7 separate regions of the Homo sapiens genome follow, and all the other regions are linked to region 1. Evidence: promoter capture Hi-C in 16 types of primary human blood cells and fetal thymus (Javierre and others, 2016). All regions are on one chromosome and are shown on one strand. The core of a region is centred on a gene start or on the middle of the fragment in contact, and the rest is flanking DNA. Distances in the headings are between cores, read along the strand shown. Region 1 holds the start of RESP18 (regulated endocrine specific protein 18). Region 2 holds the start of PRKAG3 (protein kinase AMP-activated non-catalytic subunit gamma 3). Region 3 overlaps WNT6 (Wnt family member 6). Region 4 overlaps LINC01494 (long intergenic non-protein coding RNA 1494). Region 5 overlaps LOC124907984 (a long non-coding RNA gene). Region 6 has its middle 5.5 kb from the start of CDK5R2. Region 7 holds the start of CFAP65-AS1 (CFAP65 antisense RNA 1).

What was found. Contacts are between HindIII fragments. The CHiCAGO score rates a contact against its expected background, and 5 or more counts as called.
Region 2: a contact is called between the fragment with the promoter of PRKAG3 here and the fragment with the promoter of RESP18 in region 1, in 8 of 17 cell types (naive B cells, activated CD4 T cells, total B cells and 5 more). The highest score is 11.2, in naive B cells.
Region 3: a contact is called between a fragment that was not itself captured here and the fragment with the promoter of RESP18 in region 1, in 4 of 17 cell types (M2 macrophages, M1 macrophages, megakaryocytes and 1 more). The highest score is 9.5, in M2 macrophages.
Region 4: a contact is called between a fragment that was not itself captured here and the fragment with the promoter of RESP18 in region 1, in 4 of 17 cell types (M2 macrophages, erythroblasts, total CD8 T cells and 1 more). The highest score is 8.5, in M2 macrophages.
Region 5: a contact is called between a fragment that was not itself captured here and the fragment with the promoter of RESP18 in region 1, in 2 of 17 cell types (M2 macrophages and M1 macrophages). The highest score is 7.3, in M2 macrophages.
Region 6: a contact is called between a fragment that was not itself captured here and the fragment with the promoter of RESP18 in region 1, in 7 of 17 cell types (M2 macrophages, M0 macrophages, erythroblasts and 4 more). The highest score is 10.6, in M2 macrophages.
Region 7: the fragment with the promoter of CFAP65-AS1 here is called in contact with the fragment with the promoter of RESP18 in region 1 in 6 of 17 cell types (M2 macrophages, M1 macrophages, megakaryocytes and 3 more); the score reaches 10.9 in M2 macrophages.

What each region holds. Positions count from the first base shown.
Region 1 is chr2:219,331,111-219,334,483 of GRCh38, forward strand. RESP18 (regulated endocrine specific protein 18) reads right to left here and starts at 1,634. Exons shown (of 6, transcript NM_001441699.1): 1 at 1,414-1,634. The coding sequence starts at 1,519. The HindIII fragment of the contact is 5,862 bases long and covers 1-2,508 here.
Region 2 is chr2:218,830,335-218,833,707 of GRCh38, forward strand. It overlaps PRKAG3 (protein kinase AMP-activated non-catalytic subunit gamma 3), which reads right to left and starts at 1,469. Exons shown (of 14, transcript NM_017431.4): 1 at 1,404-1,469; 2 at 1,002-1,041; 3 at 412-567; 4 at 1-47. The coding sequence starts at 1,436. The HindIII fragment of the contact is 3,600 bases long and covers 655-3,373 here.
Region 3 is chr2:218,873,869-218,877,241 of GRCh38, forward strand. WNT6 (Wnt family member 6) reads left to right here. Exons shown (of 4, transcript NM_006522.4): 4 at 1-365. It also overlaps a transcript of WNT10A not described here. Among named protein-coding and RNA genes, the nearest start is that of WNT10A, 5.3 kb to the right of the region's middle. The HindIII fragment of the contact is 2,337 bases long and covers 733-3,069 here.
Region 4 is chr2:218,919,683-218,923,055 of GRCh38, forward strand. LINC01494 (long intergenic non-protein coding RNA 1494) reads right to left here. Exons shown (of 5, transcript NR_110238.1): 3 at 2,008-2,078. It overlaps LOC124906119 (a long non-coding RNA gene), which reads left to right. Exons shown (of 2, transcript XR_007088090.1): 2 at 879-1,042. Among named protein-coding and RNA genes, the nearest start is that of LINC01494, 9.3 kb to the right of the region's middle. The HindIII fragment of the contact is 1,408 bases long and covers 973-2,380 here.
Region 5 is chr2:218,935,852-218,939,224 of GRCh38, forward strand. The region is part of intron 1 of LOC124907984 (a long non-coding RNA gene); the gene reads left to right. Among named protein-coding and RNA genes, the nearest start is that of LINC01494, 6.9 kb to the left of the region's middle. The HindIII fragment of the contact is 5,628 bases long and covers 1-3,373 here.
Region 6 is chr2:218,952,519-218,955,891 of GRCh38, forward strand. It overlaps the pseudogene KRT8P30. Among named protein-coding and RNA genes, the nearest start is that of CDK5R2, 5.5 kb to the right of the region's middle. The HindIII fragment of the contact is 2,281 bases long and covers 480-2,760 here.
Region 7 is chr2:219,000,648-219,004,020 of GRCh38, forward strand. CFAP65-AS1 (CFAP65 antisense RNA 1) reads left to right here and starts at 1,568. Exons shown (of 3, transcript NR_046086.1): 1 at 1,568-1,653. CFAP65 (cilia and flagella associated protein 65) reads right to left here. Exons shown (of 35, transcript NM_194302.4): 33 at 3,305-3,373; 34 at 2,488-2,625; 35 at 2,199-2,374. The coding sequence ends at 2,290. It overlaps MIR375 (microRNA 375), which reads right to left and starts at 1,061; the gene lies at 998-1,061. RefSeq lists an enhancer at 1,340-1,634. The HindIII fragment of the contact is 13,795 bases long and covers 1-3,373 here.

The sequences.
Region 1 (3,373 bases), core at 384-2,883:
ATTTACAAAGAGCAGCCTGTAGAAGTTCAGATGCGCAGAGGCTCAGAAAGCTGAGCACATGGGAATAGTAATCAGGTGGGTAGGTGGGGCATGGGGAAACAGGTGAGCTTCATCTTAGGGAAGTCATTGAAGCCTGGAAGTGTTAGGGAGGAGGCCTGGAATCATTAGAAAAGGTATTGGTTTGTTTAGGGTTTGAGGCTCTGGATCCTTTTCCTGAAGCCCACAGTTTGCCCAACTGTGCATGAGAGGAAGGACAGGGGTTGGGGAAGAGAACCCCTAATGCTATGCACACCTTCCTTCTTCCAGATCAGTGAGATAGGGCTGGAGGACAGTCTGTTTTTTGCTATAGTGTAGTTACCATGAGCCATTCTGGACAGGTCTTTAGAAAAGGGAATTCTCCTACCCAGTCAAATGGATGTCTAATAATTTCCTGGGGGTAAGCGTGACAAAGTTTTAAGTAGAGACATTTGGGGATGAGAAAGCCTCCTTAAGGAAGTAGTGGAACCTCCAACACCCTGAGGAGAAGGGAAAGAGCTTCGGGAAGGGGAGCTGATTCTCTGAGGCAGCGTTCCCAGGACTGGTGGGAAGGAGTGGTGACCCGCTCGGGCTCGGCGTGGACCCGGAGCGCGCCTGGCGCTGTCCGTGGTGCTGAGAGGTGGGGAGGCCAGCGTGGCGGCGGCGCTGGGCGGAATGTGGGCGAGACATCTCCGCAAGGCTTGGCGGTCCTTCCCCACGGCCCTCATCCTCTCATTGCCACCAGGCCTCCTCCCACAGCTGTTCCTGAATCCGCTGCATTGGCCTCTAAAACCAAAAATCAGGGAGAGGGGGCGACAGACTAGGAGTTTGCGCTCTCTTCCCCATGCGCTCTGCGCAGGAGTTCTCGAGTGTGCGCAGTCTGGCACGTGAGTCAGCGCGGGGTCTACGCGGATTGGTGCGGGGGAAGGGGAGAAGGATGGTCCCATTCCCCCTCCATCCTGCTTTCCCTCAGCGGTCCCCTTATTGGAAACCGGATCACAGCACGAGGAAGCCCTGGCTCGTCTCCTGGCCCAGCCTTCTCCCTGGAGCCAAGACCCCGATACCCGCAGCCCTGGTCAACTCTTTTTCTGGCCTTTCTTGCTTCTCCTGTGGCCACATAGGCCAGTTTTACCTCTCTCTGTTCATTTGTCTTTCTGACCTCTTCCCAAATCCCCAATTTTCACCTGAACCCACTTCTCGTGAGTCCAGACCCCATATGCCCAGCCTATCTGAAGCCTATGCCTCTTTCCGCTAGACGCTGTCTACCTTTTTCTCTTCTCACGTCCTTAAGCACATTCTTTTACTTCCAAGTTTCCTAGCCTTGAGGCCCCCTGCAGACCCCCACTTCTCAGGATCGCTTTCTTGGCCCTGCCCGCACCCCCCAGGGTTCCTCCTGACCGTGGGCACTAGTGTCGCTGCAGCCCCCCGGGCAGCTGTTCAGCAGCAGGAAGCAGACAAGCAGCTGGAGCCCCTCGGAGCTCCCAGGCCACAGTGGGTGCTGTATCCTCCCAGGCTCGGCGCGCTCACTCCCCGGCCAAGTCTCAGTGAAGGTAGCGGCCACGGCCGAGGGGCTGAGCGGGGCTGCAGCTTCCCACCAGCCCGCGACTCCGAATCTGTTTAACCCTCCTCGGCAGTTCAGCCAATCGTGAGCGGGCCCTGCCCCTGCGGTCGCCTCCCCAGCTCCTTCCCCTACCGCCTCCCCACCCTCATCTCTTGGAATTCCTGACCCGGCTCCTTTCGGGCATTAGCTGGGTCCCAAGAACCACCGCCTGTACTCCCAGTCCTAAGGCTGCAGAAACGGATGGCACGTAAGATACGGGTGCAAGTTGTACCTACTCAGGTTTGTTGTGAGAATCAAATATGAACAGCGATGAAACAGTAGGCACTCAAGGAATTTAGTTTATTTTATTATCCTTGACACTCTTTACTCTGGCCCACTTAAAACCCTTTAGAAATCATATAGGTTCGATCTGCTATATATATATATATAATATTATATATTATATATTATATATGGCACATCCATCCACTTTACTCCACATCCACTGCCATCGCCTTGGTCCAAACCACTGCACACTGTACTTTTTTTTTTTTTTTTTTTTGAGACAGTCTTGCAATTTCAGATCACCACAACCTCCGCTCGACCTCTACTCAACCTCAGGCTCCAGAGTAGCTGGGACTACAGGTGCACACTACCATGCCCAGCCAATTTTATTTATTTATTTATTTATTTTTGTAGAGACAGGGTTTTGCCATGTTTCCCAGGCTGATCTCAAACTCCTAGGCTCAAGCAATCCTCCCACCTTGGCCCCCCAAAGTGTTGGCATTACTGGCATGAGCCACCATGCCAGGCCTTGGACACTGTACTCTTTTAAATTGAGTTGTTGTAGTAACTAACTAGCTAACTGACCTCTTGCTTTCACTCTTGTGTACTTACAAGCTAGTTTGTGAGCTTTCTAACTCTTAGACTGGCATTTAAATTTTTTTTCATTAAGCTTAAAACATTTATTAAACTGGGCATGGTGGCTCATGCTTGTAATCTCAGCACTTTGGGAGGTCGAGATAGTGGATTACTTAAACCTAAGGGTTTGTATAGTGAACATTTGGGGTTGATACATTACAAAGGATCTGAATTATATTATTATCTTTAAAGGGTAATAGTTTGAGTTTGTTCTGGCAGGCAATTAAATTTTTGGTAAAAAGTCTTGATCCTGTGGCAGTCTGGTTAGGGAAGGAGTACTTCATCCTATTCTCAATTCTAGCCTGTATCTCTTAGTCCTGGGATATGGTGCTTATGGCTAAGGTGTGGTCCTTTTTGGATTTCAACATAACCCAAAGTCATTTACCAAAACTCTCTATTTTACGGGTCCTGAACTCCAAACTCAGTCACCCTAACACTGTGACAGCTGCCAAAATCTCTGTTCAGATATTTGACTTTTTCACTAGGTTCCTTGAAATCTCACCCTGCGCAAGTGCCATTTAGAAGATAGCTAAGAATTGGAGGGGAGTTAGGATGCAGATTTTGAGTTCCTCTCTCTGTAATTTATTCATTTTCTAAATTTCTTCCTCAATTTCCAGATGCTCTGGCATCTCTGTACTCCAAAAGCTGTTTCCTTAGTAAGACTGCCAGTTGCTGACAGAGCTGTTTCCCTGTGTACTGCAGTGAACTCTGAAGTATCTTCAGAGGAAAAGCCTATACATGTATAAGTCACTTGGTGGACTTCCTTTTTTTGAGGACTATACTCCCTGTAGGTTTCTAACTCTTGATCAGTCTCCATGCTTTCATACAGTTATTTTTATATTTTGCCTAGAGTATATACCCAATGTTAGGAGGATCCGACACAAGTTTCTGTCTTGT
Region 2 (3,373 bases), core at 219-2,718, 500 kb before region 1:
TGTGGCCTCCAGCCCGGTGGACTCAGCAGCTGGCCTGGACCGGGGACCTGTTTGGGGGAGGAGGGGAAGAGGACAGTAACTCCATCTTCCAAAGCACGTTCTCATCTGCTGTCGCCATTCATCTCACAGCAGCAGTGGGAAGCCTGGATGCTGTGGCCCTATTTGCAGGTGAGGGGCTGACCTGAGAGTCGCCCCAGGTAGTGGCTCTGTCCCATCTTTCTGAGTTGGCCATGCTGGCCTCTGGCACTGCAGTGCCTTGTTCTCTACTATGTAGGGAGACTGAGGCCACAAGATGAAGGTTGGGTCCAACTCTGTGTTATGGAGGGACCTGAGGTAGAGACCAGACCCAGGCTCCTCTGGGATTTCCCACTCCCCTGGCTCCCACCTCCCCAGAACTGGCCTTGGCCTCACCTTCCCCCTGACCTGGTGGCTCCCCTTCCTCCACCGACTTCTGCCTTGTCCATCTCAAGGCTTTGGCCCTCCGTTTCCCACGGATTCTTTCTGAGCTGCTGGTCACAGCTGGTGATGGCCATGAGCTGCTGTTTTCTTGCTCTAGGAAGCTCATCTCTGGAAGGGGAATGGGGCCTGTTTGGTTAATAGGGAGTAATGCATCAAAATCAATTCAAATGTTATTCATAATCTTTAGGATTTGCAAGCTTCCAATGGGCTTTTCTCCAACATATTTCTCATTTAAAACTTACAGCAGCCTTATAAAGCAGGCATTATTATCATCCCTATTTTGCTAGTGAGGGACCAGAAATTCAGAGAGGTTAAGCAATTTGCTGCAAATCACACAGCAAGTAAGTGGGAAAGTCACTTCTGAAAAGAGGAAATTGGAGGTGAGGGAAACACACCTGGGGAAAGGAGGAAGAACAATGAGGAAGAAAGACCAAAAGGAGGAAGATAAAAGCCAGGCTGGGAGGGAATTGGGGTCCCAGAAAAGTGGGGGACAAGGAGGTGGGGGAAGAGGTTAGGCCCCAGGGAGGGGGCATTCTCCCTACCTTGATGCTCAGAACCCCCAAGGCTGCTCCAGGAAGGGGTCTGTGGGGAGAAGAGTTTCTGAAGGAGTGGGGAAAGTGCCTTACATTCCCAAACCCCTTCTCCCTGAACACACGCCTACACACCCATGCACACCAATACACACGCTCAGACACACGCCATACACAGACATGCAGCCATACACAAACACACACAGAAACACACACATCCAAACACTCCCAGGCACACAGAACCACACACACTCACAATACATATGCCCAAACATGCACATGCCCATATTCACGAGAAAATCCAGACCAAACACACACCAGAAGACACACACGCCCACACACACATTCACAGCCCGTGCGCTCAATCTTCTGGCCTCAGCTGCCCCGGCTCCGGCTCCCCTGGGACCCCCATACCCTGCGCAGTGCGTGCTCCAGCCCGGGCTCCATGTGGCCAGCCCCAGACCAACTGAGAGCAAGTGTGCGACACTGTGGCTGGGCTGCACTATTCTGGGCCCGGCCCCGGGCACCCTGCCCTGCCAGGATCGGTTTCTCTCTGATTGGGTGTCAGGCAATGAGAGGGAGGGGCCCCCATTTGCTCAGCTGCTACAGCCCTGAAGGCTGGGGGTTGCTGGGAGGGAAGGGGCGCACCGGATAATCTGGGTACTTGGTCCTCAGCTGCCTCCTGGGTCACTGAGGACAAGCTAGAGGGACCCTTTTTGAGGGGATGTGGCTTGGAGCATGTGGGAACATGGTCATTGAGCAGAGTTGGGCTCTCAGAGTCCTGAGCCCCTATTCCAAGAGCCTCCCTCATCTTTATCAGGCACCAAAGAAGGGAACATGGAGGCAGATCAGCATAACTTTCTTCCTTGTTCTAATTTCAGTAGAGGGTGGTGCTGGAGTTAGAAAGGGCAAGTTGCAGCCAGCTCAGAGGCTGGAGATGAGGCAAGGGGTTTGTGGGTAGTCCAGGAGAGCAGCTAGTGTATGTCCAGATGTCCAGATTTGAGTCCCTGGAGTGTGTCCCTCTCTCAGGTGAAGGAGATGGAGTGGGTGTTTCAGGCAGGTGAAGAGCTGTGAGAATCACCTCGAAGGCGTGGGGAGCACTCAGAGCTCCCCGCAGGGGAAGAGACATCTGTTTCCACCTGTGGTTGGGAGATATGCCTGGGTGTGCAGGTGTCCCAGCCCCCAACCCTCTGTGAGTGCTGTGCCTACATCCCTGGTGCCAACAGGATCCCAGCCTGGCTCCAGTAGCTGCCACCCTCTTCCTTGGCATTCCCGGAGCCTGAGTCAATGTCCGGATTGGGAATGCTGACCCAGCTGCTCCGGCTTTCCTCTCTCTGCCCCTCCCTTTCTCTCCTCCTTCCAGCCTCTTCCATCCCAGCCCTGGCCCTGGAGTGGACACTCAACAACAGACTGGTGAATTTCTGTCTGAGTTTATTACATGTGTTTTCCATCAACCCTCAATGTTCCTACTCTGCCAATGGGGAGGGTGGAGGAGAATGGAGTTGGGAGGACAGCCTTGGCCAGGGCTGTTCCTGTGGTCCCCAGCCTTTCTCAAGGACATCTGCTCACTGGACAGTGGGAACTGGCTCAGAGGACAGAGATCAGTGTAAGAGAATTTCCTTCACACCAAGCATGTTTTTTCAAATGGACTCAAGATAGCCACCACCAGTTTGAGAGAAAGGAGAGTAGGAAGAACACCAAGTCCAGAGTGTTCAAGCATAAAAATAAGGTCTACATGAGGCCATTGGCTGTGGTTACTCAAACATGGAGCCACTCAGAAGGCTTCTAAGATTGTGAGGGTGTTGTATTGGCAAAGAAACCATAAGCCTGATCAGCAAAGCCTGGTTTGACACCCCTTCCCTTGCCTTATTCCCAGCCCTCCAAATCCGCACCAGCAGGAAGAGGGCTGTGAAGGCTGGAAGGACTGCAGAAAGCACAAGTTTGCCAGTGTGGGACAAAGGATATTGGATAAACAACAGCTTCCCAGCAGGAAAAGCCAGAGGCTACATAGGAGAGTGGAAAGGGGAGATCTTCCCAGAGAGCAGAACCAGGGGTGGTCAAATGTGCTGACCAAGAACTTACTCCACTGCCAGGAAAGGGCTTAGCCATTCCTGCCCAACCAGATTTGATAATTAAGATCCAGCAGCTGCTGGGTGTTTGCCATTCTTTCAGTTGCAAGTGGATTTTTTTTTTTGAGACAGTGTCTCACTATGTTGTCCACGCTAGTCTCAAACTCCTGGGCTCAATGATCCTCCTATCTCAGTAGCTGGGACTATAGGCGCGTAGCAGTGTGCTCAGCATGAGTCAGTGTTTTAATTGAGCTTACCCTCTTCTTCCTCCACTGTTGTCTGTGGGGAGTAGGAGGTGCAAATCACCTGCCTGTT
Region 3 (3,373 bases), core at 651-3,150, 460 kb before region 1:
ACTTCGCGCAGCGGTGGCTCGCACCTGTGGGACCTCAGGGCACCGGCACCGGGCGCCTCTCGCCGCTCGAGCCCAGCCTCTCCCTGCCAAAGCCCAACTCCCAGGGCTCTGGAAATGGTGAGGCGAGGGGCTTGAGAGGAACGCCCACCCACGAAGGCCCAGGGCGCCAGACGGCCCCGAAAAGGCGCTCGGGGAGCGTTTAAAGGACACTGTACAGGCCCTCCCTCCCCTTGGCCTCTAGGAGGAAACAGTTTTTTAGACTGGAAAAAAGCCAGTCTAAAGGCCTCTGGATACTGGGCTCCCCAGAACTGCTGGCCACAGGATGGTGGGTGAGGTTAGTATCAATAAAGATATTTAAACCACCAGGGCTGGACCCACAGTTTTGGGGGAGACTGATCTTCAGGCTGCCAGGCTCCAGAAGAAGGTGGTTTTGCTAGAACTAGCACCTCAGGGGCTATCACCTGGGTCCCTATCTCCCGACCAGGTTGGCCTCTCCTGGAAACTCGCTATCTCCCCTTGGCATTCTTCTTGTTCACTCCTGTCACACATCTAGGTCCTGGATCTGCAAGCTGGAGAAGAACTAGCAATTCCTCTTTAAAGGGACAGGGGCATCAGAAGCTTCTGATGCATACCTCTTGACACCCAACAATATTTCCTTCCTTCTGGTTCCTCTTGGGAAGCTACTGGTGAAAGTGAGGAGACAGAGGGCAGTTCTGGATTCTCCAGAGCTGAAGCTTGAGCTCTCATCTTCCTCCAGAGAGAAAGAGGGATGGCATAGCCCAACTTCCAGGACCCAGAGCCTCCAACTTTCCTCCAGTCCAAATACTGCAATGGGGAATGACTCCCCCATCAAGGTATGGAGGACAAAAAATGAGCTTTGGGGTCAGACACTCTGGGTTTGCAGTTGGTGCTGCTGCTTAGAACTTTACAACAGAGGCCAAATTAGCCTCATTTTCTTTATACAAAGGGATTTCGCTCTGTTTCAGTTATCCATTGCTACATAACAAACAACCCCAAAGTAATCACTTCTCAGGATTTTTGAGGTCATGATTGGTCAGAACTCAGCTTGGTAGGTCTGCTCTATATAGCAGAACCATTGGCTTGGGTTCACATGGCTGCATTCTGCTGGAGTCTCCACTGTGCTGTGCTGGACAGTCCAAGAAGCCCCCACTCACATGTCTAGGGCACAGAGCTTCTCTTGTGCTCTCATTCTCTCCATGTGGCTAACCTGGGCTTCCTCGCTGCATGTTAGCCTTAGGATAGTCAGACTTCTTACATAAGACTGACTTTCTTTTTTTTTTTTTTTTTTTTTTTTTTTTTTTTTTTTTTTTTTTTTTTGAGATGGAGTCTCGCTCTGTTGCCCAGGCTGGAGTGCAGTGACGTGATCTCAGCTCACTGCAAGTTCTGCCTCCTGGGTTCATGCCATTCTCCTGCCTCAGCCTCCCAAGTAGCTGGGACTACAGGCGCCCACCACCACACTTGGATACGTTTTTTTGTATTTTTAGTAGAGATGGGGTTTCACCGTGTTAGCCAAGACGGTCTTGATCTCCTGACCTCGTGATCCGCCTGCCTTGGCCTCCCAAAGTGCTGGGATTACAGGCGTGAGCCACCGCGCCCGGCCAAAACTGACTTTCAAAGGAAAGTGTACCAAACTTGAAGGCAGAAGCTGTAAGTATCTTCTCAAGTCCAGCTTTGGAAGTTACATAGCATCACTGTAACTGTGTATTGGTCAAAACAGTTCACAGAGCCAGGCAAAATTCAAAGGGAGGGAAAATTAATTCCACCTCTCAATGGGAGGAGTGGCAAATAATTTGCAGCCATCATAATCTGTCCCACACCCTCACAGGATTGTTGGGAGAATTTTTTTTTGAGATATGAAAGCCTTTAGCATAGCTTGTGACACATAATTTGTCAAACATATGTTTAGTAAATGATAGTTACTGTGAGAATGGGGACAGACATATGATGCTTTGCAGATATTGGGCAGGCCCTGATTGCAAATGAAGATACCTGACTTTTAGCTGAGGCCAAACAGAAATAATGAATGGCTTTTATACCAGGGAAGTCCAGAGGTTAGTCTGAATTCAGGTACAGCTGAACCCAGGGGCTCACGTGGTGTCACAGGCTTCTTTCTCATCTCCTTCCCTCTCCCTCGCCTCTGCATCTATTGTTTCTGCTTATCTCTGCCTCTCTTGGCATACTGTCCTCATTATCTCCTCCTGCAGACTTTCTCCATGACAGCTCTATATGCAGTCTTAGATCCAAAAGCAGAAGAATGACTTTCCCAGTTGTCTCCAACAGAAGTCCCAAGGAAGACCTTGCTTAGTTCAGCTTGGTCATTTGCCTATTCCTGAACCAATAATGGTGTCTAGGGAGATGTACTACCATGCCTGGGATTGACAGCCTCTCTAGAACCACAGGGGGGTGGGGCAGGCACAGGGAGCAAAGCACAGTCCTTCAAATGAAACAGAAGGAAAGGGAGCTCGTTCTGGATGTGACAGACCCTCACCGTGGCTTCCAGGACCCCTGTCCTTCCCCCGCAATGCCCCTGCATTCACTCGGTGACCTAGCCTGCTTCAATCCTCAAGGCTCATGGTGGGGAGGGGTGTCAGGCTGCAGTGGGAAGGTTGAGGCACCAGGGTTTTCCTTTCTGCCTCCTCTTGGCTCCCTTGGGTCAAATGTCTGGGCCTCAGGGAAGTCATGGAGAATTTGGACTTAGAACTCCTTGACCAAAGGAAACTCTGTTAACTTACCAAAGGAGACAGTGGAAATACATTATGGTCCACATAGAGGAGAAATGAAGCTCCCTGAGGGCAAGGTTTATATTCACAGATCTGCCTTCCCCAAAGCTCTGCTCTTATCTTCAAACAAACAAAAAAACCAAACAAGCCCAAAACCCAAACTCCTGCACTTCTCTCAGAGACCACCAGAGGGCATGCGGAGCCCAGCTTCTCTATTAACAGGGAGCGACAGACAGGACCTGCAGGACATCTGGGAAACTCAGAGAGTGGTGGGCAGGAGAGGATAGGACTGAAAGGAAGCAAGGAGACCTACAGACAGCTTGGGTCAAGCTTCTAGGGTTCCAGACTGTCTGGGACGTCTGGGCTGGCCCAGACCTAGGGCTGGGATGCCAGCCTCCCAGACTCTACCACTGCTGGGTCCTGCAGGGGGTGAGATAGGGTGGAAGATGCTGGACATCTTCCTCCACAATGCCAGGGAGGGAAGCTGGGGAAGTGGCATGAACTGGCACCATTCTAGGCAGGTTAAAAGGAATTCAGAGGAAGTTGTATGGTACAATGAAAAATGCCTTGTTTGCTAGCTTGACCTTGGTCAAGTCAGTTAACCTATCTGAGCACTTCCTATCACCTAATAG
Region 4 (3,373 bases), core at 427-2,926, 410 kb before region 1:
CCACCCACCTCAGCCTCCCAAAGTGCTAGGATTACAGGCATGAGCCACCACACCTGGCCAAAAATCCCTTTATTTCCAACCTTTATGCATCCTTATGTTTAAGGTGTGTCTTCTATAACAGCATATAGTTGTTTTTTTTTTCTTGTCCAGTCTGAAAATCTTTGCCTTTAATTGATTTATATTATGGTAATTACTGATACTGTAGGGTTTAAAGTATACCATTTTGCCATTTTTTTCCATTTTTCACATCTGTTTTTTGTTTCTTTTTACCTCTTTCTTGCCTTCTTTTGGATCAATCAATATTTTCCTAATTATTTCATTTTCATCCTCTATAAATTAGTAGTCACGTGTTTGCTATTATTGTTATTTTATTACCCACATATTATAGCATGCATCCTTGGCTTAATTAGGTCACCCTTGAATTAGTACTTTCACCCTTTTCTAAATAACTCTAGGGACCTTATGACACTTTAATTCATTTTAGCATTCTCCTGGCTTTCATGTTATTGTTGTCATGTATTTTTTTTTTTTTTGAGACAGAGTCTTGCTATGTTGCCCAGGCTGGCCTTCAACTCCTAGGGACAATGGATCTGCCCTCCTCAGCCTCCCGAGTAGCTGAGATTACAGGAATGTGCCACCACACCTGGCTACAGCAAGGCTTTTGACAAAAATGGTTGAAAGAATTCAAAACTGAGGATCCTAGTGCTGAGGGTGGGATATTTTGTGTTATTGGTCAGTAAGAATGTCTCTTACTTGAGATATGAATCCTGAAGGTGGTAAGAGTTGATTTATTTAGACAGAGTTAATTTTAATTAGTGAAAACTGAAGAACTGACTTGTATTTTGGTCTGACGTATGATTGTTTCAACTTTGCTGCAGTAGCACCTACAAGAGGACCAACATTCTCCAGGAAATTCTGTCCTTTAAAACCATGAGATGAATAATCTTGGTCTGGAAGATATTCATAGAAAGAAGCTTAGAATGTTTGATTTTTGAGCATGAATTAACTGTACAGTCATCAATTAAATAAGCTGATCCACTGAGTAATTGTTGAGATGATCCTTCTGGATGCTGAATAATGCTAGCCTAGAATGGGGATTTGACATTGATATATTCTTTCCTATTAACAAATCCAGTTTTCTTTCTTCCTCCCATCCTCCCTCCTTCTTTCTTTCTTCCTTTCTTTTCCTTTCATTTGCCTTCCTTTCCTTCCTTCCCTTCCCTTTCACAATATTTTACTTTAAAAAAATTATGAAATCCATCATGTACACTTCAATGTGTTAAATATATATGTACATTTTAAAGATTAATAGTCCAGTGAACATCTGTGTACCCACTACTCAGGGTGAGAAACAAATATAACGATGGTCTCGTGTGTTCCTTGTGGGCTCTTCCCCAATTCTTCCTTCTCCACAGAGACCACTTCCACCTGCCTTCTGTGGTAGTTATCTTATAATCCTCTTCATAATTTCTTTCTTTTTTTTTTTTTTTGAGATGGAGTCTCGCTCTGTCGCCCAGGCTGGAGTGCAGTGGCATGATCTCAGCTCACTGCAAGCTCTGCCTCCTGGGTTCATGCCATTCTCCTGCCTCAGCCTCCCGAGTAGCTGGGACTACAGGCACCCGCCACCACGCCTGGCTAATATTTGTATTTTTAGTAGAGACTGGGTTTCACCGCATTAGCCAGGATGGTCTCGATCTCCTGACCTCGTGATCCGCCCGCCTTGGCCTCCCAAAGTGCTGGGATTACAGGCGTGAGCCACCGTGCCTGGCCCCTCTTCATAATTTCTAACACCTCTGAATTCTTCTACTGTATATATATATATATATATACACACACACACACACACACACAATTATATATATTTATATATACATTATATATATACATTATAATGTGTATATATATAATGCATATATATAGTAGAAGAATTTACTTTCTATATAGTAAATTTTGTGTATACACACACATACACATACAAAACTGGATCAGTAAGGAATTTACACTTACTTCTTTAGATGAAGACCCCCAGGAGAGGGTAAGATGACAGAGTCTCTGGGTCAGAAGTGACCTCATTTTCCCTGAAAGTTTACAGGGCAAAGTCACAAGTGAGTCTGTTATGTTTGGGGTGTTTGTCCTCTTCAAATCTCATGTTGAAATGTAACCGTCACTGTTAGAGGTGAGACCTGGTGGGAGGTGATTTGATCATGGGGGTGGATCCTTCACAAATGGCTTAGCACCATTTCTTGGTGATGTTCTCTCCCAGTTAGTTCACATGAGAACTGGTTGTTTAAAAGAATCTGAGACCTCCCCCTTCTCTCTTTTGCGCCCTCTCTTCACCATGTGATGTGCTGGCTCCCCTTCACTTTGTGCCATGATTGAAAGCTTCCTGAGGCCTTCACAAGAAGCTGATGCTGGCACCATGCTTCCTGTACAGCCTGCAGAAACGTGAGCCAAATCAAAGCCTGTTTTCTTTATAAATTACCTAGTCTCAGGTATTTCTTTATAGCAGCACAAGAATGGACTAACACAGAGTCTGTGGGAAATAGGACTCAAAAAATTGGTGGCAGGGTGAAGTGTCACCCAAATACTGGCCATCAGGCAGGAATATGGTCAGGGGGAGTAGGCTGCTCTTATTTTCTCACTCAAAGTTCCCACAGCCTACTTTCAGCTCTCGGGAATGGGTGAGAACAAAACATTTTTGTGGGAGTGAAATAAATATCTTTAGATAATCCACGTAGGAGGGTAAGGAGGGAATAACAGGAACTTCATCAACACATGATATATTAATCCATTTTAACTATAAAGAACTACCTGAGACTGAGTAATTTATGAAGAAAAGAGGTTTAATTTCCTCACATTTCCACAGGCTTAACAGGAAGCATGGCTGGTAACTTACAATTGTGGTGGAGGGGTTAGGGGAATCAAGCATGTCTTACCGTGGTGGAGCAGGAAAGAGCGAGAGTGAAGAGGGAAGTGCCACACACTTTTGAACAACCAGATCTTGTGAGAACTCACTCTCACAAGAATAGCAAGCGGGAACTCCACCCCAATGATTCAATCACCTGCCACCAGGCCCCTCCCCCCACATGTGGGGATTACAATTCGAAATGAGATTTGGGTGAGGACAGAGCCAAACCATATCATTCCACCCCTGGCCCCTCCAAAATCTCATGTCATCACATTTCAAAGCCAAGCATGCCTTCCCAACAGTCCCCCAAAGTCTTAACTCATTCCAGCATTAACTCAAAAGTCTAAGTCCAAAGTCTCATCTGAGACAAGGCAAGCCCCTTCCGCCTATGAGCCTGTAAAATAAAAAACAAGTTAGTAACTTCCAAGATACAATGGAAATACAGGAATTAGGTAAATGCTCCCA
Region 5 (3,373 bases), core at 260-2,759, 400 kb before region 1:
TAAAATTAATCATTAAAATACTGACCCTTGTATCTAGTGACCTTGCTAAACTCATTTGTTCTTTCTGTCCAGTACTTTTTACTTTCTGCATGCACAGTCATGTAGTCTCTTAATAATGAACAATTTCATTTTCTCCTTCCCGTACTTATACCTTTTATTTCTTTTCAGTTCAGATCCCAGTATAATGTCAAACAGAAGTAATGATAGTGACATTCTTGACTTGGTCCTAATATCAGGGGGATATCTTACAATACCTTATTACTATTATGATGCTTGATGTGGAGGGTGTCCAAGCCTGAGTAGGGGTGGGAAGAGCATCTGCATAGGATGTAGGAGCCTGAATGGGGTGAGGAGGTCATCTCCATGGAAGGGCGATCCAGGACAGGGTGTCAGAGCCCAGAAAGATGGACAAGGACATCTACATGTTAGGTGGTCTTGGGTGGTATGTTGATGCACCAAGAGGGAAAGAAAATGTTCGTATGTGACACAGATGTCAGGCACCAAAGGAGTGAGGAGAGCTTTGACATCAGGGATGACCCAGCAGAGGGTGTCAGAACCCAAGTGGAATTAGAAGAACATTTATAGAAGTTTTGGGAAGGAGGGAATGTGGCAGTGACAGGATATTGGTTAACATGCAAAGGGATTTATATAGTGAGTAAATGGATTGAAGAAAATGGGAACCAGGTTTCTCACTATTGGAGAAAGAAGTTAAAAATATGGGCCAGTCACAGTGGCTCACGTCTTAATCCCCATAATCCCAGCACTTTGGGAAGCTGAGGTAGGATCACTTGAGCCCGGGAGTTCAAGAACAGCCTGGGCAACATGGTGAAACCCCATCTCTACAAAAAATAAAAATAAGCTGGGTGGGATGGCAGATGCCTGTAGTCCCAGCTACCTGGGAGGCTGAGGTGGGAGGATGGCTTGAGTCCAGGATATCAAGGCTGCAGTGAGCCATGTTCATGCTACTGCACTCCAGTTTGGATGACAGAGAGAACCCCTGCTTCAAAAAACAATCCACCCCCTCCACCACCAAAATGGAAAGAGATGAAACTAGAGTGAATGCTGGAGTATTGGATTAGAATTAGAGGTATTAGTGTGAACTTAAAGTTTTCAGTATACATAGATGGATATAGAAGTGTGTGTGTGGAGTATATTTCTTAGGGCTGTCCACTGAGTGGGGCTAGGAAGAGCAACACCCCAATAGCAATGAGCATATCTAGCATCCAGATCTTAGTTTCTAAACACCTTTCTTTCCTAACAGGAACCAGGGCTCCTTAGAGAAATGGTTGGTTCTAGGCCTGAAGGAAGGAAAAATACAAGATAAACCTAGAATACTTTACTGTGCCAGAGAATGAAGAAATGCTGAAAGAATAATATCTATTCTGTCAAAGAGACATAGAAACTAGCTTGAAGGAGCTCCCATTGGCCAAATCTGGGACAATTTGAGCATTGAAATAAGGATAGTAACAGATTATAACACATTAAATAAAATGGGAATCCACGAATCCATTTGATAAAAATAAATAATTCAAAATTTTATGAGTAATTTTACTTAGTTTCAAAGCATCTTGCCAAGGGAAAAAGTGTGACTTTACAGTGGAGAAGCTAGCAGATACCATACCATCTTCATCAAGTGATCAAGGTTAAAATCACCAATGAAGAGACATTAACAGCTAAGCGCAATGTGGGATCCTGGATTGGTTCAAGGAACTGAAAAATAACATTAGTGGGACAATTGGTGAAATTTGAATAGATGTGTAGACTGTTTAGCAGTAATATTTCAAAGTCAGTTTCTTGTTTTGATCATTAATTACATTGTGGTTGGCAGGAAAAAGTCCTTGCAATGCACTGAATGTTTATGTTCCCCCGGCCCCCAAATTCATTTGTTGAAATCCTAACCCCCAAGATGATGATATTAGAAAGTGGGGCCTTTGGGAGGTGAGTAAGGTTACAATGGAAAGATAGCTGTCTGTGAGGAATTGGGCCCTTAGCAGACAAGAAAGCTGCCAGGACCTTGATCTTGGACTTCCCAGCCTCCAGAATTTTGAGAAACAAATTTCTGTTATTTATAAGCCACCCAATTTATGCTAGTTTGTTATAGCAGCTTGAATGAGCTAAGACATTCTTTGTGGTAGGAAATGCATTCTAAAATATTCATGAATAATGAGGCATCATGTTGACAACTTATCCTCAAACAGGTTAAGCAAAAATGTTCTTTATACTGTTTAAAAAAAAAAGGAAAGATATAATTATTCTGGACTTGGGAGAATGTTTATCTGATGTGCTGGTGCATGAAGCAGGGAGGGCTGCATTACTTCCTGGAGGAATGAAGTCTTACCCAGAATGATGCTTTTACTGTAATCTGTGCAGGCTCTAACTGTGAATTCCTTGAGGGTAGGGCCTGTGTTATTTAAAGGTGAAAGAATAGGCTTTGTGGGGCCTGAAGGTTATACATTCAGGAGGGCTCTTCTTAAGAAAGAGATTATAAAATTACGAGTATAATATTAGGCAGTAAAATGATTATTTATTTAGGACAAGAAAAGAAATCATGTCAAATTATAACTTCTATAAAGCTCACAAATATTGCAAACACCACAAAATCCATAAAAAAAAAAACCCTCTTTGATTGGTTAACTGCTTAGCCTATCCCTCTATAATACTTTTTGGGTTTTCATTTTTTTTGAGACAGGATCTTGCTCTTTGGCCCAGCCTGGAGTGCAGTGGTGGGATAACAGATCACTCCAGCCTCGACTTTCTGGGCTAATGCAATCCTCCTATCTGAGCCTCCTGAGAAGCTAGGACTGCAGGTGTGCACCACCATACCTGGATAATTTTTTAATTTTTTTGTAGAGATAGGGCCTCACTATGTTGCTCAGGCTGGACTTCAACTCCTGGGCTCATATGATCCTCCTGCCTTGGCCTCCCAAAGTATTGAAATTACAGGTATGAGCCACTGTACCTGATCTGTAACACTTTTTTTTAAACACATTTCTTGGCTTCATACTCTGTGATTACATCTTCATATGATATCAATTTGATAATATCCGCATCTTAAACTAAAAATACAATTCAGTCTTTCCTCTAGCATGGGCGATCAAAATTTGTTTTAAAAAATTATTATTCATAGCTTTAAAAAATTTGCTTTGGTTTCAAAAACTCATTGATAATGTTACATAAATGTTTAAGATTGTTATCTAGTTTGGGAAACTGCTACCAAGTTTCTTCCATATATGAGCTGTATGACTTAAAGACATAACCGACTATATTCCTGACAAGTAAGAAGTTCCATTTTTTTGTATGAGAACTGAATTCTCCATGTACAATTTTACACACCCAATAATTAAAGGAGCCTTCCACAGATAAGTGTCTGGCG
Region 6 (3,373 bases), core at 370-2,869, 380 kb before region 1:
GTTTCTCAAATAGTATCTGCTCATGTGGTTTAATAATCTTATTGAACATTTTCCTCAAAGCCCTTGAAAAGCAGAATTGACTCTCCATAGAGTCTCTGGAGCTTTGGGGAGACCATGGGGTGTGGAATGAGTAGCCAGAGTACAGCTCCCAGAAAGCACGGTCAGGACTTGGGGCCAGCATGGAACCTGGCCCAGAATTAATATTCAGAGCTTCAGAAAATTAAAGTGGCCTGCAACAGGACCAGAAAAGGGGACCAGTGCCTAATATGCTGTCGGTCTTTATGACCCTAGGAAGCAAATCAAACCACCCCCAGGAACAGTCTGAGTAGCAGTGGGTATGAGCACAGTATCTGAGAGGAAAGCACAGATATAAATTTGGGTTTCAGAAACCAAACAAAAAGAAATGATAGTACCACCCTGGCCCTTTAATGAAAAATGTTCTAATGAGAAAAAAAATGCTAATGGCACGGGTCAGGCAAAGCTTTCCTCCTGCTCTGTAAAAATAATGATGACAGTATAATTTGTTAACAATTAACATTTATGAACACCATGCACATGTGATATACAAGCATTGTTGAGCATTGCATGATTAAATAAAATCTTACAACCTTATGATGATAGTCCATTTTTTTTTTTTTTTTTTGCCAGTTGGTAGAACTAGCTGAAGTTTTATTTTGGGGGGAAAAAACGGAATTGTTTTGTAGCTGGAGATATGGGCAAAGGAGGTGTCCCACGCAGTAAACTCCCCTGCAGGTGGGCTGAGGGCTAGGGCTGAGCCTCAGGTGGGTCTCCCATTCCCTGTGCTCCCCTGCACAGTGGCCTCCCTCCCGGACTCTGGGGCAGCCACAGAAGGGGCAGGCTGGGAGGGGCTGCCACAGCTATTCACTTGGGCAGGACGTCAGAGGACTCGGACACCAGCTTCCCATTTCCCATTGTGGGTCTCGATCTCCCCAACCATGGCCCTGGTGGAGCTGGTGCAGCTGAAGGAGCTGGAGCCGGCGCCAGAGCCAAAGCTGGAGCCCAGGCTGTAGCTGAGGCCAAGGGCTTGTGAGGCCCCCATAGGCTGAGCTCAGACCACCTGCATAGCCACTGGTGGTCTTCTTATGGATACTCACGTTCTGCATCCCAGACTCCAGACGGCTCTCCTCGCCCTCCAGCAGCTTCCTGTAGGTGGCGATCTCGATGTCCAGGGCCAGCTTCTGGTACTCACCCAGCTGCGTGCCATGTCCTGCTTGGCCCGCTGCATGGCGGCCTCCAGCTCAGACAGCTTGGTGTTGGCATCTTTAATGGCCAGCTCCCCCCACTGCTCGGCATCTGCGATGGCGGCCTCCAGGGAAGCCCCCTGGCCTTTGAGGCCCTCAGTCTCAGCCTGGAGCCTGCTGATGTTCTGGTTCATCTCGGAGATCTGTCTTTGCACAACGCAGGTCATCCCCATGCTTCCCAGCCAGCGTCTGCAGCTCCTCATACTTGATCTGGTACGTGCTTTCAGCCTCAGCCCGACTGTGGATGGTGATCTCTTCCTACTGCACCTTGTATGGTCCACTTTTATAGACCTCAGAAGAATTAAGAAACTTGCCCCAAGGGCCCCAGGTCATAAGTGGAGGGGCTGGATTTGAACATAGACCGAATGACCTCAGAACCCACATAGGAGACCCTGCACTGTCTGTCCCTCTTAAGGTGACAAACATTTTTTGTGCGATTTGTGAATGAGTGAGATTTCTTCTTTGCCCCTCCCTCTACTGATAAGGGCATCTGAGAAGGCTGGGCGAGGTGGCTCATGCCTGTAATCCTAACACTTTGAGGCTGAGGTGGGCAGACTGCTTGAGCCCAGGAGTTAGAGACCAGCCTGGGCAGCATGGTGAAACTCCATCTCTACAAAAAGTACAAAAATTAGCCAGGCCTGGTGATGCATGCCTGTGGTCCCAACTACTTGGGAGGCTGAGGTGGGAGGATCCCTTGAGCCCAGGAATGAGTGAAGATCATGCCACTGCACTCTAGCCTGGGCAAAAGAGTGAGACTTTGTCTCAAAAAAAAAAAGATGTGGGGAGAGATCTGGGTCAGTGAGCCCCTTGTTCTGGCCCAAAGGAGGCCTGGACTCCAGGGTTCAGCCGCTTTCAGGAGGCAGCTTCTGAAACTCTAGGGCCCCTGAGTGATTCCTGTAAATCAAGATAAGAAAGGCCTTCATGGTGGTGAATACAGTCTGGGGACTGAGTACCATGCAGGGGTTGCTGGGGGCAGATGAAAGAAGAGGGCCTGGGGGCAGAGAGGAGAGGGCTGTGTTCCACTCTAGGGAGCATCTGAGCTAGAGTTCTCGAAGGCCCTTCTTTCCCCGCAGAGCCTCCAGTGAGGTTTGCACACCTTCCTGGGGCTATGCCTGATAGGCAGAGGAAACCTTCCATCTAGGGCACAAGGGTGGGAAGGCTGGACTCTCAGAGGGTCTGTGTTCATCGATGAAATCAATATAGAGGAGGAAGGGACAGGATAAGGGATATGGAACCAGATGAAGACCCAGTCACAGTGGCAGTTTCTGGCAGCCACCTGCCTGGTTGAGATGGAAACGCTGATTCCAGCTCCAGCCCCCAGACAGGCTAAGAATATCCCAGAAAAGCAACAGCTACCACCCCCACCCTTCTTGATCTGCTCCTACATCTGTAGTGCTATGCTGGGCGCCAGCGGGGCCTGGGAGGAGAAGGAGTGGGGGACGAAAGGGAGGAGGCAAAAAGGGGGCTTGGTGGAGGCAGAAGGTGAACCAAGACTTAAAGCTTCTGGTGAGTGCTGGGAGGACTGGACAGAGAGAGCTGTTCTCAGGGGACAGTAAAGGAGGTGAAGGCAGGAGCCAGGGAGTTGGAGGGAGATCAGGACAGAGGATGGGAAAGGAAGAAATGGCCCCCCTTCCATCAAGGAAAGCAGCAGAGCTTAAGGCAGGGAAAAGGAGTCACCAGCTCACCCCTGTCTTCTCTGTCCCCTTCACCCTGGGCCCTCCAGCATCTCAGCATTGGTCCCTTCTCTCCCCACCCCAGAGCATCACATTCCTCATCTGTGCTCCCAGCCCTATTCACTGTTCAAAAGAAACTATATTTGGGCTCCTTAATTAAGTCCTTCTAGCAAACAGCCTGCGAAATGGGAAGACATGAGAATTTGGGTCTCCCTCCTGACAGCTAGCAGCACCTCCTCTGTCAATTCCTCTCTTCTCTCTGCTTACCCCCTCCCCCCTCCACTGTTATCTGTAGAGGGGTTCTGCTCCCCTCCTTTGTTTTAGCCACCCACTTCTCCCCTGGGGTAAGGTCCTCAGGAGAGGGAGAGAAGTCTGGGCTCGTGCATACCCACCCCCTCTGCACACCTCAGGAGCTGAGACTGATGGGCAAGGGAGTTG
Region 7 (3,373 bases), core at 318-2,817, 330 kb before region 1:
CTGCTGTAGTCCACCCTCTCCCTAAACCTGCCTGGGATCTGTCCAACGCCATCTCGCCCCTCCCCCTTCTCTCTCTGTGCCACGGACTCGGGCTCAGCAGATCCTTTGGGGCCTCTGGGTAGTTGGGTGACATAGGGGCACTAGAGCGGGTGGTGGTGGAGGGGACAATCCAGCACCTCTAGGAACATGCAGTTTGGAGGGACTTCTGACCCTGGTTCCCATCTCCCGGGGCTGCCTCTGCCTGAGCTGAGGGCCACCTACCTACCCCACCCCAGCTGATGGAAGCGAGGATGTGGGATTCTGAGGTTTGAGGAAGGTGGTGAACCGCTGTGCCTGGGGGCTTGTCCTTTTCAGTCAGTCTGACTGTCTCAGACGTTTTTAGACTGAAAGAGGGACCAAGGGAGTGTCAGGGAGTGACATCTCAGGATGTCAGCAGCACCACAGAGATCCGAGGAGTGGATTTGAGGCTCCATGGTGGCCCTCAGCTTCCCCCGCCCAGATTTTCCACACCTCAGCCTTGGCTCCAACTCCGTGAGGGCCTGCATCTTCCCCAGCATGACCAGGAGCCCAGGAACCGGGACAGGAGGCTGGGGAGGGCCTAGCCCCTGCGGGAGGCCAGACCAACCGTTCACTGAGCAAATGGGAAAACCAAGAGGCCGGGAAATGACTTGCCCAAGGCCATAGAAGTCGCGGGGACAGAGGCGGACTAGAATCCGGGTTTCCACCTCCAGAAGGGTTTCTGTTCTGGGCCACGGCCCCCTTCGCCACCCGCTGGAGCCGGCTCAGCCCGTATTACGACGCAGAATGGAGCCTGGCAGCCCAGAAGCTGCGGGCAGGGCAAGGCAGGGCGGGTGGGGCCGGATGGGAGCCGGATCTCCCCTGGAGCGGCGCACAGCCTCTCCCACCCGTACGGTTGAGATGGCGGTGGCGGTGGCGGCGGCAGGTGCCTGCGTGGCGATCAGGCCGGCCCCCGGGCTGGTGCTGAGAGGCCGCCCCTGCCTCACGCGAGCCGAACGAACAAAACGCTCAGGTCCGGTTTGTGCGAGGGGCTCGTCGCGGGGCGGGAGCGGAGGGCCCGGGGCCTGGCGGTCGCCCTCGGTGATCTCCTGGTCCTGGTCTTCCGCGAGCTCAGTGCTGCACAGCGCCCCGCTAGCCTCCGCCCTCACCTGAACGCATCTGCGGCTGACACGTCGGCGGCCGCGGCGGCCACCGCAGGTGCGCACCTGGCCCGCCCCTCCTTTCCCAGCCACCCTCCGCCCGGCTTTCCTGGCCCCTCCGCCCGGCCCAGCCTAGCTTGGCTTCGTCCCCAGCCCACGCCTTGGAGCTTGTCCCGGAGCCCGGGCTCCGTGTGCTCTTATACTGCCTGTTCAGTCCCCGCCCCCAGACACACACACTCACACCTGTCCAGGCGCCCGTTTGCTCGGGGCAAATATTGACTCATGGAGGCGGAGCGCTCCCCCCTCCCCCGCCCGGGCTCTGAGACCGGAGCTTCTCCGAGGCCTTGGTGGCGGGGGCGGAGGGGAGGGTGCTGGGGACCCTGGGCGCCTCTGGAACAACACCAGATGTCACTTTTCCACCCACCTGCCTCTGGGAGGGAGGAGCCGAGAAGCAGAGGACAGAAGCTCCCGGGCGGGGGTTAGGAGGAACCGAGAGGTGGGTATCCATCCTCGTCTGAGGACTGATTCACAGTGGGAGTCGCTTAGCAGGGTCTGTGGCCCGAAATCCAGTGGTGACCTCGACCCGCCCCAGCCTAGTTCCTGGCCCTCCGCGGCGTGCCTCAGTTCTTCCTCCCCAGCCTCTTGGGCACTCGGAGCTCGGCAAATGCTAAGGGGCTGGCCCTGGGGGTGCTAAGCCTCCGAGCAGGCGCGGCGCGGAAAGGTGAGGGGTGGCCGCCCTGCCCAGTGGACACCTGCTTCGCTGGCCAGGCCTGGCACTCAGTTACTGTGCACCAAGGTGCGCTGGGGCAAAGGCCAGCCAGGCCCCGTCCGGAGCGCCCTCCACTGGCCAGACCCGGTCCAGCGGCCGGCAGCTAGCGGCCAGGTCTCAGTCCAGCTGCAGTGTGGGCGGAGAGGTGCATCCTCCCGGGCCCTAAGTTCCCGCCGCGCCTCTGCAGTCCGCCCGGGCTGCTCCCTGCCATCCTTCCCTCTCAGAGCTCGCGCGCGCGTTCCCCCTCGTCGGGGAAATAAAGTCAAGGTAGATACAGAAAAAAGACTAGATGCTTTTACTGGCGGTGGAGAGGGGGCCAGGCGTGACCCCTAGCGGCATGTCGGAGAGGCTGGGCGCGGGCATTTACGGAAGGTCGGTAGGAAGTGGCACCACCGGGTGGAGTACCTCTGCTTGCTGCGTCGGCAGCAGCGTGTCCGGGGTCAGACTCCTGGAAGACAAAAAGTCCCAGGTAGGCGTGGGGGCGAGGCTTCGGGCAGAGCCTGGCTGCCCCCGTGGCCCCTCTCGCGCGGTCTGCGCGGCCGCTGGTCCCGGCGCCCTTACCTGGGCACGCAGAACGGCGGCAGGGCGATGACGCGTGGCCGCGAGGTGAGTACCACCTCCCCGCGGCTCGCCTCCACCAGGATGTTCTGGATCATGTTCTCCAGCAGCGCCTCCTGCAGGTTGGCGAAGGCCGGGAGCCTGCGAGGGGGCGGGGGCTAGCATGAGGGCGGCCGCAGTGCCCGCGCGCCTCCTCGCTCGCCTGTCCGTGCGGTACATTGTGCCGCGAGCTCTACGGAGATTCCCATTCGACTCCCCTCATCCACTACACTATGGGGCATTCTTGTTTCAATGTTACGGACGTTCCAAGTGTGGCTAAAAGATTCCAAGTTGCCAAATATGCTGCTGGTTTAAGGGGTGGGATTCAAACCCAGGCGATGTAGTAGGCATCTCAGGGCCAAGTTTAGAGAAAGGTAGGGAAGTGATGAGAGGGCGCAGAAGGGACTGGGTGGGGCCTAGGGAATCCCTACAATGACATAAATCATCTGTAGGGCAGCCCCGGCGGGAAGTCCCACCTGCAAGACAGGTGGTCCTTTTCTGGCTCTAGAAGCCCATTTACAAGACTTTGCAGACTATAACAATTCTCCTGGTAAGTTGGTAAATGTCAACAACTAGTTCTTAGAGAAAAAAGAATAAAGTTCAGTGTTGGTGCCGGGCGGATACTCCCACAGAGGCCTTAAGCTACCAACATGACCTCACTAAGCACTGAATTAGGATGAGATGTGCATACAGGCAGCAGCCATCCTTGGCATCCCACTGCCTCCTAGGAACCTTCTGCACTTCGCCTCCCTCCCGTCCTCACTGGGGCCTGGCTGCTCACCTTCTGATGGCCTCCTTCTCGTCCTGTTCTTGCTCCTCCTTCACCATGACATTCAGCTGCTGTTGCCAC